Regions from separate parts of the Homo sapiens genome. Here all the other regions are linked to region 2. Evidence: promoter capture Hi-C in 16 types of primary human blood cells and fetal thymus (Javierre and others, 2016). All regions are on one chromosome and are shown on one strand. Each heading gives the region's core, a stretch centred on a gene start or on the middle of the fragment in contact. The rest is flanking DNA. Distances are from core to core; before and after follow the strand shown.

Region 1 (2,700 bases), core at 78-2,577, 460 kb after region 2:
TGAGAAAGTATCTGTATTTAGGTAGGCAATCTGGTGCTTAAGAGCAGGTTTTGGAACTAGAGTTGGAGTTTGAATCTCAGCTCTGCCACTTTTTTTTTTTTTTTTGAGATGGAGTCTCGCCCTGTCCCCATGCTGGAGTGCAATGGCACGATCTCGGCTCACTGCAACCTCCGCCTCCCAGGTTCCAGCGATTCTCCTGCCTCAGCCTCCCGAGTAGCTGGGATTACAGGCGCGGGCCACCACACGCGGCTATTTTTTTTTTTTTATCTTTAGTAGAGACGGGGTTTCACCATGTTGACCAGGCTGGTCTCAAGCTCCTGACTTCGTGATCCACCCGCCTCAGCCTCCCAAAGTGCTGGGGTTACAGGCGTGAGCCACTGTGCCCGGCCAGCTCTGCCACTTTCTAGCTGTGTGATCTCTAAAATGAGAGTGCTAACAGTTGCCTACTTTTTAAAGTGTTGTATGAATTAAGTCGTAAGACACTTGGAATAATGCTTAGCACAAAATAGTATCAAACGCAGGGACATTTTATGTGTGTTCTGTTACCCAAAGGCATACATTACGAAATATATAGATGCTCGCTGGAGAAACTGGCACAATCTAGAAAGCGCTGTTTTCCCCGTTTGTTTTTCTTGGTGTGTATGGAGTGAGTGCCAAAAAGCCTCAAGTAACCTTTTTTTATCTCCAGGGTTTGGAGGGTTCTGGAAGTAAACATCATAGTTCGCCGTTGCCAGGCGCTGTTGAGTTGCTGCCTTGCTCTTATCTAGGGGTCTAGATGGCCTTCCCTGCAACCCCCGCCCCCCTGCGCTCCCGCGTCCCCCCGCGCCCCGCCCTCCCCTCGGTGTTCCCGTCCACGCCCCTGCTCCCGCGCCTTCGCTCCAGTTCTCGTGCCCCCGCCCCTCCCCCCGCGCCCTTTCCCAGTGGTTGCAATAACGGACTTAGAGGTCTGGACAATTCAAGTAAGGAACAAGGCTCGCTTATCCAAGTTCTCGCAGGATAAAAGTTTGTTATGAACGATTTCACATGGTTTCTCTTTATCAGAAAGTTGTTAGGGACTTTTAATCGCAGAATTGGCCTCGGGTGCCCACGCTCTAGTATTGAAATGGCGGTTTTGGGACAAATAAGCAACATCCGTGGGAGTGGAAAGCGACAGACCTGATCCCGGAAGCGTTACAGCTAGGCGCCAAGTTCACAGGCGCGAAGTTCAAATTTGTCTTGTGACCACTGTGATAGGTGGGTACAGGGGAGCGCGGGCGAGCACACGTGAATTACTGCTACCGCCCCCTAGGTCCGGGCACTATAAAGGGGCCTGCGCCTGGCGTTGTTCATCGCAGTTGCTCCGGATCTTTGCACACACTCCACGGGCAGTTGGAGGTGAGCTGCTGCCGGCCACGCCAGAGGCTGCAACACCAGGTAGGTGACCGGCTGGTCGGACTGAGATGGGTGCTGAAGTGGTCCAGAGGTTAATCCTAATTGAGTGACTTAATTAAAATCAGGACCACTGTATACCTTGGACTCTGGTTGCCCGTGTAGGCCTGAGGTGGGAGTAGAGGAAGTGGCAGCGAGGGGAGAAGTGGAGGCGCCAGTGGTAGCATTGGGGGAGGTGGGGGCGCCCATGGTGGTGTAGGAAACATATGGTGGCGCCAGTGGCGGCATTGGGAGGGGTGGGGGCGCCGGTGGCGGCGTAGGAGCAGCTGGTAGTGCCAGTGGCGGCGTGGGGAGAAGGGGCGCTGGTGGCGTCATTGCAGATAGTGGGGGGCCTGGTGGTGGCGTAGAAGGAGGTGTTGGTGCCAGTGGCGGGTGGAGAGAAGTAGGGGCACCAGTGGCGGCGTTGGGGGAAGTGGGGGTGCCTGTGGCAGTGTCGGGGAAGTGGGGGTGCTGGTGGTGGTGTAGGAGCATGTGGTAGCACCAGTGACGGTGTGGGGAGAAGTAGGGGCACCATTGGCGGCCTTGGGGGAAGTGGGAGCGCTGGTGGTGGCGTAGGAGCGTGTGGTGGCGCCAGTGGCTATGTAGGAATACGTGGCGCCGGTGGCGGCGCGGGGAGAAGTGAGGGCGCTGGTTGCGGCACTGGGGGGAGGTGGGGGCCCCAGTGGTGGTGTAGGAACAGGTGGTGTCCCTAGTGGCGGGTGGGGAGAAGTAGGGATGCCAGTGGCAGCGTGGGGGGAGGTGGGGGTGCCAGTTGCGGCCTAGGAGTACTTGGTGGCGTTGGTGGCATAGGAGCACATAGTAGCGCTGGCGGTGTGGGGAGAAGTGGAGGCGCCGGTGGCCGCATTGAAGGTGGGGGTGCCAATGGGGGCGTTGAGGGAAGTGGGGGGTTCTGGTGGCGGCGTAGGAACACTTGGTGGTGGTGGAAGTGGCCTAGGAGCACGTGGTGGTGCTGGTGGGCGTGGGGAGAAGTGAGGATGCTGGTGGTGGCATTGGAGGTGGGGGTGCCAGTGGCTGTGGGGAGAAGTGGGGGTGCCCGTTGCAGCATTGGGGGGAGGTGGGAGCTAGTGGTTGTGGGTAGGGGTGTGTGTGTGGGGGTTGAGGTCTCTTTGGCTGAGGACTGAGTGGTGGTGGGAGACAGGAGTGGGGTAGGGCAGAAGTTGGATAGAAGTGTGGGGGAGTGGAAGCCTGCTTGGAAAACCGGTTGGGAGCAGTTGAAGGTGGCTGGAGGTGGTTGGAGGTGCGAGTGTGGGGGAAGGGTGGTGGGGTTGAGGC
Region 2 (2,700 bases), core at 142-2,641:
CTGGCATTACAGGCGCCTGCCACCACACAAGCTAATTTTTGTATTTTTAGTAGAGATGGGATTTCACCACGTTGGCCAGGCTGGTCTTGAACTCCTGACCTCAGGTGATTCCCTGCCTTGGCCTCCCAAAGTGCTGGGATTACGGACGTGAGCCACCACTCCCCGCCTTGAATTACTTCTTCTTTCCATTGTGATTCAATAGCATTTTGTTATTTTTGTTACTGGTGTTATTTTTGTTTATTGTTATTTGTTACTTTTGTTACAGCACACTGGCTGTCTTTTCTCTAAAAGGCAATACAAGGCCGGCACAGTGGCGCACGCCTGTAGTCCAGGCTACTGGGAGGCTGAGGCGGGAGGATCGCTGGAGTCCAGAAGGTTGATGCTGCAGTGAGCCGTGATAGCGCCACTGCACTCCAGCCTAGGCGACAGAGGGAGAACCTGCCTCAAAATAAACAAATAGCAATACGACAATAGGATATTGGCTCTGGAATTCAGAATCTTAGTGCCAGCTCTGTTACTCAGTAGCTGTATAATATTGGATAAGTGAATTTTCACACTTTGAAAACCAGCTTCCTCCATCCGCAAAATCGAGCCAATAATAATCCCTAACTCATGAGGCTGTGAGCAGATTAAAGGAGATAGTGTCTGAAAAGCATCTGACACAATAGGTGCCTCTTTAGCTAGACCAAGGGTTCTTAACCTGGAGTTCATGGACCCTTAGGGGATACATGGATGAACTTCAGGGGATCTAAGAATCTAAAGCAACATTTTGCATGTCAATATATGCATATTATTATTATTATTATTATTATTTCTGGGAAGAAGGTCCATAGCTTTCATCAGCACCTTTAAGGGTTTGTGAATCAAAAACGTTAGTATGCGGTACCCTTGGGCAGAAAAACAAACAAGAAAAGGTTAGACAACTCGATGGTAGACCTTGAGGGATTAGAGCCAGCCTTTCAGGGTTTAATAGGTTCTTTCTCATGCATACATAGTTTCTAATGTTCACAATAGCCCCTTGAAGGAGGTGTTAGCGCACCTATTTTTCAGATGCCGGAACTAAGAAACGAACTGATCTGTAATAGACGGAGTTCCTAACCAATGCAAATATTATTGAAGACTTTTCTAGGCCAAAACCGAGCTAGGCTATGGGAACCGAAGTCCAGTCAGAACTCAGCACCACAGAGGCCTCCTTCTTCCCTGGTTTGCATCCCCAGCTCATTCTGCGCCTCCGGAACGTTTCATAGATTTTTGCTGAGTGAAATCGACTTGCTGCCGCCACCGCCGAAAAACTCCCGGGGCACAGAGCTCCGCCCCCACCGGGCCAGGCCCCACCTCCTCTGCAGTCGGTATTGTCCGATGGTTCCCGGCGTACCTCGGCTTCCCTCGGTAGTTTCCGGCAATGGTCGAGAGTTTCTAACGTGCCCCCTTGTTGTCTCTCGGCCGCCGTCCTCTCAACCACCGCCCCCCTTTTCGGCTCCCTCTCCCCCTTCCCGTTCCCCCAGTCAGCCTGGCCCTGCTGGTGCCTCCGGCGCTACGGGCTGGGCAAGATGGCGGCCTTCGGGATCTTGAGCTACGAACACCGGCCCCTGAAGCGGCCGCGGCTGGGGCCTCCCGATGTTTACCCTCAGGACCCCAAACAGAAGGAGGTGCGTTCGAAAATCGGGGCTCTGGAGGGGCCGGGGGCACGCGGTCAGCCTAGGAGGAGGCACTGACGGCTGGGAATGGGGGGCGGGGCGGTTCGGTGAGAGCAAAAGTCCCGAAAGGGGGAAGAGTAAAGTGGGCTGGCGTGGGAGGGCAGGACGGGGGGCGGTGGGGGGTTCCAAGGTATGAATAGGGGGTGGTGTAGGGGCCGCACCAGAGGCGCCCTCCTCCACACACACCTCAGAAAGTTGTCTGAGACAGCTTGGTGGGGTACGGCTGCTCGGCTGTTCGCAAGAGAAGAGTGATGTTTGAGGGCGCGCTGGGTGGCTGGGAATCCTAGTGACCATGGGAGTGAGGGTGGGGTCCAAGTGAACGTAAGGGCCCAGCTTTAAGTAACGATCTGTTCTACACGGAACCCTCCTCCTGCCCTTTCACCTTGTTCCTTCTTTTCTCCTGCCCTACTCTCCCACCCCTTCCCCCTTCCCCTAAGGAAAAAACAACTAAACGCCGCTTTCCTGCCTCAGGATGAACTGACGGCCTTGAATGTAAAACAAGGTTTCAATAACCAGCCTGCTGTCTCTGGGGATGAGCATGGCAGTGCCAAGAACGTCAGCTTCAATCCTGCCAAGGTGAGACAACTCTGCCAGGCTGAAGGAAAAGGCTGGAAGAATCTAAGAAGGAGCAAAGGCCCTGGGTTGGGAAGACTTATAGGGACAACCTAAGTGGCTGAGTTTGCCTTCATGACCTAATACTATCTCATTGGCATTTGCCCAGCAAAAGGCAGGACCACCTGTCTGCCCCTTCTTCCCACCCTGAGGTACACTTTTCTTCCCTCAGATCAGTTCCAACTTCAGCAGCATTATTGCAGAGAAATTACGTTGTAATACCCTTCCTGACACTGGTCGCAGGAAGCCCCAAGTGAACCAGAAGGATAACTTCTGGCTGGTGACTGCACGATCCCAGAGTGCCATTAACACTTGGTTCACTGACTTGGCTGGCACCAAGCCACTCACGCAACTAGCCAAAAAGGTAAGGTACTGTTTCCTGTCCTTCAGG
Region 3 (2,700 bases), core at 92-2,591, 430 kb after region 2:
CACACACACAGCTACTGGGGAGGCTGAGATGGGAGTTTGAGTCTGCAGTGAGCTGTGATCATGCAACTGCACTCCAGCCTGGGTGATGGTGTGAGACCCTGTCTCAAAAAAAATGTACTTTAGTAATTAAAAATGATTTTTATAAATGGGCTTTAAAGAAGCAGGGCTTCTTGGTGAAAAGGCAGATTCCAGGTCTGGGGCAGGAATTTAAAAAAAATTTTTGGAATGTCTTGTCATACCAGAAAGCAAGGAAGCTTTGACATATTACTTTGCATCAAAAGGACTCAGGAAGCAACTTGAGGAGGCTCCCACTGGCTAAAGATGCAGACTTGAGCATCAATAGGAATAATAACTGAAATATACTAAAACTTATCAAGTATGTTTAAATCTATGAGCTTATAATTATGCTAAAAAATTCATTGGTCATCTTTGGAAGACTTACAAGGAACAATTAATTTGGAAAACTGGTTAAAAAGAGAAGAATAAAGTTTTTGAGGAACCTCTATACTAGTTCCCAAAATGGCTGTGCCAATTTATACTTCCCCCATCAGTTACAAGGCTTCCCTTTCTTTACATCCTCACTAACACTTGTTATTATTCGTCCTTTTGATGATAGCTATACTAACAAGTGTGAGATGCTAACTCATGGTTTTATTTTGCATTTCCTTGATGATTAGTGATGTTGAGCATATTTTTTATATATCTGCTTGCCATTTGTTTTTTTTGTTTTGTTTTGTTTTGTTTTTTTGAGATGAGGTCCTGCTCTGTTGCCCAGGCTGGAGTGCAGTGGCGCCATAATAGCTCACTGCAACCTCGAACTCCTGGGCTCAAGTGATCCTCCCACCTTGGTCTCCCCAAGTGATAGGATTACAGACATGAGCCACTGTGTCTGGCCTGTACCTCTTCTTTTGAGAAATGTCTGTTTAGATCCTTTGCCCGTATTTTAATGGGCGTATTTGCTACTGAGTTGAGCTTCTTAACCCTTTATCAGTTGTATAGTTTGCAAATGCTTTCTCCTAATCCGGGGTTGCCTATTCACTCTGTGTAATTGTTTCCTTTACTGTGCAGAAGCTTTTTAGTTTGATGCAATCTCATTGCATATTTTTGCTTTTGTTATCTGTGCTTTATGCTAAGTGAAATAAACCAGGCACAGAAAGTAGATACTGTATTATGTCACCTATTTGTGGAATCTAAAAAAGTTGATTTCATAGAAACAGAGAGTAGAAGGGTGGTGAGGCTTGGGGGGGTGGAGGAGGGATGGGGAAAAGGGAGATATTGATCAAAGTTTCAGTTAGACTGGAGGAATAAGTTTTAGTGATCTGTAGTACTGCATGGTGACCACAGTTGTTAATAATGTATATTTCAAAATTGCAAAAAGAATAGGTTTTTAATGTCCTCAACCACAAAAAAATAAGTTAGTGAGGTGATGGCTATGTTAATTAGCTTGGTTGACTCTTTCTAAAATGTATACGTGGATCAAACCATCACATTGTATGCCATAAATATACACAATTATATATCAACTTTAAATTTAAAAATTAAAAGAATAAAGCATATGTCTTCCCTCTCCTGTATGAACTAGACCATAGAGTAACCCAATAGTTGATGGGGGAAGCTTTTCTTTATAAAAGCATTCTAGCTAATAAGTGAAGAAGGAATGATAGAATATCACCATTAATAGTGAAAGCATTTATTAGGCCGGGCTTGGTGGCTCACGCCTGTAATCCCAGCACTTCGGGAGGCCATGGCAGGTGGATCACCTGAGGTCAGGAGTTCGAGACCAGCCTGGCCAACATGGCAAAACCCCATCTCTACTAAAAATACAAAAATTAGCCAGGCATGGTAGCAGGAGCCTGTAATCCCAGCTACTCAGGAGGCGGAGGCAGGAGAATCTCTTGAACCTGGGAGGTGGAGGTTGCAGTGAGCTGAGATTGCACCATTGCATTCCAGCCTGGGCGACAGAGCAAGACTCCATCTCAAAAAATAAAAAAAAAGTTAAAGCATTTATCAGTGACAAAAACGAGATACAATCAGGTATTAAGTACCTTGTGGTAAACAATTTCACCAGTGAAGTAGTCTTGCACAAAGAGAAAAGAACACAAACCTAATTAAGCTTCTGGTTCTACCTACCAATTTACAGGAGATATACACGGGACAGGAAACATGTTAAAGGACACCATAGGGATGCAGTCAGCAAAATTCAAACTTTGGGAAGCTGACCTTCTTACTTCAACAAATTGTAATAAAAATGGAGATTTAAATTAAACTTTTAGGCCGGGTGCGGTAGCTCACCCCTGTAATCTCAGCACTTTGGGAGGCTGAGGCGAGTGGATCACTTGAGGTCAGGAGTTCGAGACCAGCCTGGCCAACATGGTGCAACCCCATCTCTACTCAAAATACAAAAGAAAAAAAAAACAGCTGGGTGCGGTGCGGTGGCGTGTGCCTGTAATCCCAGCTACTTAGGAGGCTGAGGCAGGAGAATTGCCTGAACCCGGGAGGAGGAGGAGGTTGCGGTGAGCCAAGATCGTGCCACTGCACTCCAGCCTGGGCGACAGAGTGAGTGACACTCCGTCTCCAAAAATAAATAATGAGTGACACTCCGTCTCCAAAAATAAATAAATAAACACACAAACTTTTAAAGGATTAAAAGAAACTCAGAGAGGCACATTGACAAATTATATCTGTCTTATTTGGATCCTG
Region 4 (2,700 bases), core at 8-2,507, 270 kb after region 2:
GGAGGTTGCCGGGAGCTGAGACCACGCCATTGTAGTCCAGCCTGGACTAAAAGAACGAATCTCCATCTCAAAAAAAAAAAAGAAAGAAAGAAATGGGATCTTACTGTGTTGCCCAGGCTGATTTTGAACTCCTAGGCTCAAACGATCGTCCTGCCTTGGCCTTCTAAAGTGTTGGGATGATAGGCATGAACCACTGTGCCTGGCCTCTACTTTCTTCCCGTGGCACTGATCACATAGTACTGAACTTGGTTGGCTGTTTTTCCCTCACTAACTTGAGGTTCATGAAAAAGTAGTATGGAGGAGTAGTGTGTAGTTGGTATTCAATAAATATTTGTTAAATGAATTAAGTGATTATAAAATGAAGCAGAAAATGAGGCCACACAGAGTGAGTAAAGAATCGTTGTACTACTCTCTTGAGGTTGGAATGAAAAATGAGTGGATATCTAAGAATTTCAGAAATTAAGAATTCTTTTGAGGCCAGGCGCAGTGGCTCAGGCCTGTAATCATAGCATTTGGGGAGGCCAAGGTGGGAGGGTTACTTGAGGCCAAGGGTTCAAGACCAACCTGGCCAACATAGTGAGACCCTGTCTCTAAAAAAGAAAAACAATTTTTTTTAAATTAAAAATAAAAAAAGAATTCTGTTGAATGGCTTTCCAGATTGAACCTTAGAGAATGGCCATTTTCTTGCTAATCATATATACTCTTTTTTTTTTTTTTTTTGAGACAGAGTCTCACTCTGTCTCCCAGGCTGGAGTGCAGTGGTGCAGTCTGCTGACTGCAACCTCTGCCTGCTGGGTTCAAGCCATTCTCGTGCCTCAGCCTTCTGAGTAGCTGGGACTATAGGTGTGCGCCACCACGCCTGGCTAATTTTTGTACTTTTAGTAGAGATGGGGTTTCACCATGTTGGCCAGGCTGGTCTTGAACTCCTGGCCTCAAGAGATCTGCCCGCCTCAGCCTCCCAGAGTGTTGGGATTACAGGTGTGAGTCACCACACCTGGCCTCATGTACTCCTGACTGGTCTGTGTGGGCAGGCACATTCACCCCTTGGCTTAATTCTTTAAGAATCTTGCAGGGGTTGGTAAACACTATTCAGGGTCCCAGGAGAGGACAGACCTTTTTGACCAAACCAGTGGCAGAAATAGAATGGACTTTGGTTTAGTGTCACTGGAAAAGGGGCCAATGCTTTGAAAGCAAGCATGTCAAGTATTTCGAGAAAATAGGTTTCATTCTAAAACAGCTGTTTGAGCAATTGGACAATCAAATGTAGTCATTAGTCTAATTTTGAGCATCATGAGGGTGAGGGAAACACTGTCCTTAAGAATGTTTATTGAAGCCCAAGGGATAAGGGGCTGAAGGGATACCACTGTTCTTTATTTTTCTCCTTATCCTGCCTGAGCTCTTGACCTCTATTTAATATCATGTTGTAAGTATTGTACCATAGGATAGAAGAGAACTGAGTACTAGGTAGCTATATTTAACTGTTGATTTTTGTGGACAGTTTAAGAGAGCATGAACCCACAGAAATTAAAAATTAGAAAAAAAGAACATGAAAATAGTTTGTAATTATTCTACTCTTGTAGATATTGGCTAGACATAGAACAAATGTTTCCCACTGCCCTGAGAATCTTTTTCTTTATCTCAGGTTCGCACTGCCCCTTGGAACACCACAAGGGCCTTCATTGCTGCCATGAAGGGCAAGTGTCTGCTAGAGGTGACTGGGGTGGCAGATCCCACGGGGTGTGGTGAAGGATTCTCCTATGTGAAGATTCCAAACAAACCAACACAGCAGAAGGTGAGATTGTGTTTATTTCTAGAATGAAAAAGTCAAGGGAGAAAGAAATGGGTGAGTGGAGGACTTGGAATGTAGTTAAGGTAGCAGAATGACTTAGATGCCTACTTAAAAGGAATTCAGGTTTTTAGGAGTCTCACTTTTTTTTGTTTGAGGTAGGATGATAAAGAACCGCAGCCAGTGAAGAAGACAGTGACAGGAACAGATGCAGACCTTCGTCGCCTTTCCCTGAAAAATGCCAAGCAACTTCTACGTAAATTTGGTGTGCCTGAGGAAGAGGTGAGTGTGGAAGTGGAAAATTTAGAGTATACTAGGGGCTTTGTATAGAGTTGGAATTGCTAGGAGGCAGATGTAAAGAACTATCTGGGGAACTTTATTGTAGGGTATAGTAAGCTAAGTCTTAGATATTGTTTTAGGAGTTATCTTTCTATGTAATCTGCTTTGGGGTGATTTTTCTTTTTTGGTCTAACTGTGTACATTGGCTTGTCCTTTGAAATCCCTGAATGATTTGTGTGTGTGTGTGTGTGTGTGTGTGTGTGTGTGTGTGTGTATATTTATATTTGTGTGTGGCTATTTGTCTCGTAGATTAAAAAGTTGTCCCGCTGGGAAGTGATTGATGTGGTGCGCACAATGTCAACAGAACAGGCTCGTTCTGGAGAGGGGCCCATGAGTAAATTTGCCCGTGGATCAAGGTTTTCTGTGGCTGAGCATCAAGAGCGTTACAAAGAGGAATGTCAGCGCATCTTTGACCTACAGAACAAGTGGGTCGTTTTAGTGCTGCAGAAAATCCAAGCTGGAAAGGGGGAGGAGTTCCAGGCACTATTTCATAATAAAGAGGAGGTCACCTAAAAGTTTGACTACCTAGGTAGTCAGATATCTGACATGTCAGGGTAGTATATGTTTGTAATCCC

Evidence for each region. Contacts are between HindIII fragments. The CHiCAGO score rates a contact against its expected background, and 5 or more counts as called.
Region 1: a contact is called between the fragment with the promoter of GCNA here and the fragment with the promoter of MED12 in region 2, in 4 of 17 cell types (naive CD8 T cells, total B cells, naive CD4 T cells and 1 more). The highest score is 6.6, in naive CD8 T cells.
Region 3: a contact is called between a fragment that was not itself captured here and the fragment with the promoter of MED12 in region 2, in 1 of 17 cell types (non-activated CD4 T cells). The highest score is 8.5, in non-activated CD4 T cells.
Region 4: a fragment that was not itself captured here is called in contact with the fragment with the promoter of MED12 in region 2 in 1 of 17 cell types (non-activated CD4 T cells); the score reaches 5.9 in non-activated CD4 T cells.

What each region holds. Positions count from the first base shown.
Region 1 is chrX:71,577,110-71,579,809 of GRCh38, forward strand. GCNA (germ cell nuclear acidic peptidase) reads left to right here and starts at 1,328. Exons shown (of 13, transcript NM_052957.5): 1 at 1,328-1,413. RefSeq lists an enhancer at 1,535-2,176. The HindIII fragment of the contact is 6,206 bases long and covers 1-2,700 here.
Region 2 is chrX:71,117,205-71,119,904 of GRCh38, forward strand. MED12 (mediator complex subunit 12) reads left to right here and starts at 1,392. Exons shown (of 45, transcript NM_005120.3): 1 at 1,392-1,649; 2 at 2,169-2,273; 3 at 2,482-2,673. The coding sequence starts at 1,551. The HindIII fragment of the contact is 19,646 bases long and covers 1-2,700 here.
Region 3 is chrX:71,549,654-71,552,353 of GRCh38, forward strand. The region is part of intron 5 of OGT (O-linked N-acetylglucosamine (GlcNAc) transferase); the gene reads left to right. Among named protein-coding and RNA genes, the nearest start is that of OGT, 18 kb to the left of the region's middle. The HindIII fragment of the contact is 544 bases long and covers 1,070-1,613 here.
Region 4 is chrX:71,390,927-71,393,626 of GRCh38, forward strand. It overlaps TAF1 (TATA-box binding protein associated factor 1), which reads left to right. Exons shown (of 38, transcript NM_004606.5): 19 at 1,643-1,792; 20 at 1,949-2,068; 21 at 2,375-2,550. Among named protein-coding and RNA genes, the nearest start is that of TAF1, 26 kb to the left of the region's middle. The HindIII fragment of the contact is 3,497 bases long and covers 1-2,700 here.